Regions from separate parts of the Homo sapiens genome. Here region 1 is linked to region 2. Evidence: promoter capture Hi-C in human tissues and cell types (Jung and others, 2019). All regions are on one chromosome and are shown on one strand. The core of a region is centred on a gene start or on the middle of the fragment in contact, and the rest is flanking DNA. Distances in the headings are between cores, read along the strand shown. Region 1 has its middle 12 kb from the start of LARP1B. Region 2 holds the start of HSPA4L (heat shock protein family A (Hsp70) member 4 like).

Evidence for each region. Contacts are between HindIII fragments. The study calls those that stand out against the background at their distance.
Region 1: a contact is called between a fragment that was not itself captured here and the fragment with the promoter of HSPA4L in region 2, in 1 of the 25 tissues and cell types used here (lymphoblastoid cells).

The regions. Positions count from the first base shown.
Region 1 is chr4:128,048,034-128,051,047 of GRCh38, reverse strand. No RefSeq gene overlaps it. Among named protein-coding and RNA genes, the nearest start is that of LARP1B, 12 kb to the left of the region's middle. The HindIII fragment of the contact is 3,104 bases long and covers 1-2,876 here.
Region 2 is chr4:127,780,635-127,783,699 of GRCh38, reverse strand. It overlaps HSPA4L (heat shock protein family A (Hsp70) member 4 like), which reads right to left and starts at 1,378. Exons shown (of 19, transcript NM_014278.4): 1 at 1,043-1,378. The coding sequence starts at 1,149. RefSeq lists enhancers at 628-707, 316-1,308, 1,208-1,357 and silencers at 1,498-1,567, 1,848-2,017. The HindIII fragment of the contact is 5,760 bases long and covers 376-3,065 here.

The DNA.
Region 1 (3,014 bases), core at 75-2,574, 270 kb before region 2:
TCCTACCCTTTGTTCTACCTTCCAACGGTTGTCTGCTTTTCTTTATTTTTACATTCAACCCTCTTATTAGAACTCCCATGTGTCCCCCACCAACACACACCATTTTTTTTTTTTTTTTCGAGACAAGATCTCACTCTTTTGTTCAGGCTATAGTGTAGTGCTGCGATCACGGCTCACTGCAGCCTTGACCTCCCAGGTTCAAGAGATCCTCCCACCTCAGCCACTCAAGTAGCTGGGACCAGAGGCATGAGCTGCCAAGCCTGGCAAATTTTTTTTTTTTGAGACGAAATCTCACTTTGTTACCAGGCTGGAATGCAATGATGCAATCTCGGCTCACTGCAACCTCCACCTCCCAGGTTCAAGCAATTCTCCTGCCTCAGCCTCCTAAGTAGCTGGGATTACAGGCACATGCCACCATGCCCAGCTAATTTTTGTATTTTTTTTTTAGTAGAGACGGGGTTTCACCATGTTGGCCAGCGTGGTCTCGATCTCTTGACCTCGTGATCCACCTGCCTCAGCCTCCCAAAGTGCTGGGATTACAGGCGTGAGCCACTGTGCCCGGCCGTGGCAAATTTTTTATTTGTTTCAATTTTTGTAGCGATGAGGTGTCCGTTGCCCAGGCTTGTCTTGGACTCCTGGGCTCAAGCTATACTCCTGCCTTGGCCTCCTCAAATTTCTTGCTTTTCTTTATGGTTTGTCACTAAACATGCATCCCATAGTTTTGCCTATTTTTAAAACTATATGTAGATGGAATCATATGCTACTTTCCGTCTTGCTTCTTTCATTCAATATTATGTTTTTAAGATTCATACAAGTTGAGAGTAGCTGTAGGTCATTTATTCTGTTATAGTATGTGTATTTCATTGAATGACTATATCACAATTTTTTATGCTATTGTTGATGAATTTTTCGGCTTCCAATTTGGGACTACTGTAAACATGGCTTTTATGAACATTTTTTTTTCTGGTGTGCATGTGCCAATTTATTGAGGGTATCATTTTAGGAATAGAATTTCTGAGTCATAGGATCTGCATATCTTCATTTGTTCCAAATATTGCCAAGTCATTTTCCAAACTCTTGTACCAATTCACACACCCACTGGCAGCGTATGAGAGGTCTCCACATCCTGGACATTTCTTCCTTTTCCTTACATTGTCAGGAGTAATCACTTATACTCTATTGAGTAACCATAATATACCTTTGTGCTTTGTTCATAGATTGGTCTGAAAATTTAAGAATCCACAAACAGCTTTATGTTATTTTGAGTTTATAGCTATCTCTTACTGCAGAACAATGTAGTATGAGAGGACTGCATTCCCTTCTCTGTGGTTTCAGTGTCATGATCCCCTAGAAATAAGATCAAATGGGGCTGAGCACGGTGGCTCACACCTGTAATCCTAGCACTTTGGGAGGCCGAGGCGGGCGGATCACCTGAGGTCAGGAGTTCGAGACCAACCTGGCCAACATGGTGAAACCCCGTCTCTACTAAAAAATGCAAAAATTAGCTGGGTGTGGTGGTGGGTGCTTGTAATCCCAGCTACTCCGGAGGCTGAAACAGGAGAATCACACGAACCCAGGAGGCAGAGGTTGCAGTGAGCTGGGATCACGCCCCTACACTCCTAGGGAACAGGGCGAGACTCTGTCACACACACAAAAAAGAAAAAAACTATTGATAACAAAATAGGTTTACTTGTGCTTAGGTAATTTGGCAGACATCTTCTAAAAAATGAATGAAATGAGCCTGTCACATCAGTGGCAACAACTAGACAATATTTGTTGTCAGTGATAACCTTCAAGTTTTCAAGAGAAAATGAGAAGCTTGGAAAACTTTTAACCATTACCATGAACTCAACAGCTTCCTAGTGCTTAAAGATTTTCTGATGAGCTCAGTAGTGATTTTAATGAACCTAATTTTTGATGTTGTGTAATGAAATGTGTCAACATTTTGGAGGTCTGCATAACTCAGTGACCCAATATTTTTCTAATTACAAAATCATACATAGGGAACATGAAGGGTAAGAAGACTACTGGCTTTTTTTCTGACTTACAATGTTTTTATTACTATATGTCACATATATGAACAACCATATTTATTACTATATAACTGATTCCAATCATAAGCACTAGTAAAAATATACTACTTAGAAAACAATTCAAGGTCATATAGATTGTCTGGATCAGGCCTTGGCAAACTATGGCCCATGGGCCAAATCTGTCTACCACCTTTTTTTTTTTTTTTTTTGAGATAGAGTCTCACACTGTTGCCCGAGCTGGAGTGCAGTGGCGCGATCTCGGCTCACTGCAACCTCCGCCTCCCAGGTTGAAGCAATTCTCCTGCCTCAGCCTCCCAAGTAGCTGGGATTATAGGCATGTGTCACCACGCCCAGCTAATTTCTGTATTTTTAGTAGAGAAGGGGTTTCACTATGTTGGTCAGTTTGGTCTCGAACGCCTGACCTCGTGATCCACCCACCTCGGCCTCCCAAAGTGCTGGGAATACAGACGTGAGCCACTGCGCCCAGCCTACCACCTATTTTTATACAGGAACAAACTAAGAATGAATTTTACTTTTTTTAATGATTAAGAAAATAAAAAAAGAGGGGCCAGGCACGATGGCTCATGCCTGTAATCCCAGCATTTTGGCAGGCTGAGGCGGGCGGATCACGAGGTCAGGAGACCGAAACCATTCTGGCTAACACGGTAAAACCCCATCTCTACTAAAAAAAAATAAAAAAAAATTAGCTGGGCTTGGTTGCGGGCACCTGTAGTCCCAGCTACTCGGGAGGCTGAGGCAGGAGAATGGCACGAACCCAGGAGGCAGAAGTTACAGTGAGCCGAGATTGTGCCACTGCACTCCAGCCAGCCTGGGCGACAGAGCGAGACTCTGTCTCAAAAAAAAAAAAAAAAGAAAAAGAAAAAAAGAGTATTGAGAGGTGACAGCGTGCTGGCAGTCCTCACAGCCCTCGCTCGCTCTCGGCGCCTCCTCTGCCTGGGCTCCCACTTTGGTGGCACTGGA
Region 2 (3,065 bases), core at 129-2,628:
AATTAAGATGCCAAATTACCTTTCCATAAAAAGTAATATAGGTTTCATACAGTTGGTTTCCTCATAAAATTACCAGTAACAGCAGCCTATAAGCAGCAACTAGTTTTTCATATTTCAGAATTACTTCATTATATTCCTTGCCAACAAACTTCCCAGGCCAGAGAAACAACGGAACATGTGGAAACATGTTTCCATGACATAACGCCGCTCCTCCTAAGCCTTTCATTAAGCGTTCATAATAGAATCACTCCACAGTCATGTTTATACGGGACAGCTGCCCCCGACTCCGGCAATTCACTCTGCAGAAACACGCTTTTGGTCCGACCCAACCCCGCCGCATTCCAGCAACTGACGTAGTTACCAATGCACAAGGCCAGTGACTCCCATCCCGAGGCTCTCCCTATCAATGCACCATTGACCTGGCCCTGTAAACCGGCTCCATTACCTGCAGTTCTCAAGGGCACTGGGTTTTGTAAAACCCCACATGCCTCACTCCCCGCCCTTAAAAAAAAAAAAAAGGCTTTCGGGGCCAGATGAACCTGCAATTCATCTCTGACGTGTGCAGCCGAAGCTGACTTTTTACTTTTCTGAGAAAAAGCTGTCACCCAGAGGGACGGGGAAAGGAAGGAGGGCAGCTGGCGCGGGGCCGATAATCCCACGTAAACCTCGTTAGAGGCAACCGGAGATCTTTCTCAATATTCCGGACGCCAGGGGCTGTCCCACAGCAACCTCTTCCTCGCAAGCAAAAGAGGCGTTGGGGGACAGCGGCACGAGGCAGGGGACGTGCGTAGGTACAGAAAAGAGAGCTGCGCAAACTAGTGCGGTCCCTCGTCCTTGAAGGAAAAGAAGCTTTGCGGGGCGAGGAAGTCCGACTGCCACCCGGCGGTCTCTAGGGACTGCGGTTGACGGGTTGCACCTGTCATCTCGGGGTTCGGCGCACGTTAGGGGAAAATCCGAGGAAGCGAGCAGACAGGACAAACGTTAAGGACGGGAGAGAAAAACGTTTCTTAGGGTCGAGGTGATGCTCAGCAGAGGCACTTACGGGGTACACCTGTCGCTGTACTCATTGGCGATGGTCTCGATGCCGCCACTTCTCGCGACAGCAATGTAGCAGTTGAGAAAGCCGAGGTCAATGCCAACCACAGACATCCCGCCGCGTGATGGTCGGGCTGCTGGTACTGAACCCTTCGGTACGGGAACCGTGTCCTCTTCTGGGCTATTGCTGCTGGGATTGCGACTCCTACCAGAAGCAAACGAGAGGGGACCCCAAGTCGCTAAGCAGAAAATCTAGGGCAGGGAGTCGGAAACCCGCGGAAGGAGCAGAGGCCGTCAGCGCCGCAGCCTGCACCGCGTCCCGCAGCCTGGGTCTTTCCCTACTGCGGTTCGGCCGCCTCCAACCGGCGGTTACTGGGACCTGCGCCTGCGCGCTCGGCTGCCCGGGAGGCGCGCGAGCCTCCGCTCCGCGCCCGAGCCAGCTCCGGGCCCGGACTTCGGCCGCTTCCGTCAGCACTCGGGCAACGGCTGCCCAAGAAGCTGCGGGTTCGAGAAAGATCTGGAAAATGGAGGCTGCTGAGCTATCCGGGGGCGGGAGAAGCGGGAAGGCGGGGCGGGGAGGATCGGGGAAAGGAGGCTAGGCACATTGGCTTGCTCGCCCTCGCTCGGCAGTAGGACGTCGGGCGGTCGGGCTAGGTGAGAGGCAGGCGACCGGCCGGCCCGGGGCTTTGCGAACGTGTTTTGAGGCACATTTTTGGGTTGTTTTGGCAACCGGAGGCGTGCTTGTCACGGCGGCAGGATGCTGTCCTGGCTGGCGGGCGCCGCCCCCTCACCCCCTGCCCTCAGAAGGGCTCGCCCGCAGGCCTCGCCTCCCCGAGGGGCCCATGTGCAGCCCGGCGCCCTCCCCTTGTGGCTGGAGGCCCGCCGCGCCCGGCTCTGTGAGGTGGCGCGCATTGTCCGACGTCCGCCGCTCCGCCCTGTCCAGCCCCGGGGGAGCTGCCGAGCCCGGGACAGACTCTTGTGCGAAAGCGGGATGAGCACATGTTAGGTTTTTTTCTTTTTTCATCAGCAGGATTTGAAATATCAAAAGTCAAACTTCTGTCAAGAAATAAGATCACACTGACAACTTTCCCTCCACGTACCTTTCCTCACACCTTTCTAAAAGATGCTGGCCCCGCCGCTGACCCTTGTCTCTGGAAACCAGTTTTACAGGAAAGTGACCTTAATTAAGTGTGCCACTCACACCAGCCAAGTCTGTGCTTTAGCCTCCAGCCGCTGCCCTGTGGTCCTCAAAAAAGAGCCCAGTGTGGTCCAGCGCCCTCCCTCTTGGTTTGATCGGCATGTGTTGCCTGTCTGTAATTAACCAAGTTTTATGTTACACTTAAGAAATTTGGCTGTCTTGTTGCTTTTCGTTCACTTTTACGTGTGTGCCCTGTTCCTTCTCTGCCAGTCCTTGGTCTGTTCCCTGTTCCTCCCCGTCCTCTTCATCTAGTCTCTGTTCCTTCTCATCCAATTCTTTGTGTGTTTTCCTGTTCCATTTTGGTATCCATCTTGAAAACAGGCGTGTTTTTTTGTTTGTTTGTTTTGTTTACTAGATTCTTTAGTATTCTGATTATCCCTAGTTGTCCACTTCTTTAAATAACTTAGATTTTTTACTATTAATAATGTTGCTACAGCAGCAGCAGCAGCAAGGGTGGCTATAGTTCCTGCTGCTGTTAGAATGAACGTGAAATCCATTTTCAAGGGCAATACTGAGGCAACTGGATTGTACAGTATTGCTTGGGCTCTGGTCTCTACATTGAAGAAATCAATCAGGCCTCTCTTCCCTTCATGAGCACTCAGGAGACGTGGAGCCCCTGGGTGAAGCTGCGCTCTGAGACACCGCAGAACTCGGCGTCCCAGCGGGCAGCTCGTGAGCAGAACAGGGATTGGGCGTTGCCCTGCGACTGAACCCTGGGCCCTGGTCCTGCTGGGCGCCTGTGACTTCCACCAGTTCTCCTCACACACCTCTTCTGACATCGGCCATCACTATCTAGATTTATTCCAGAATATCCTGAAATTCTCCTAGTACA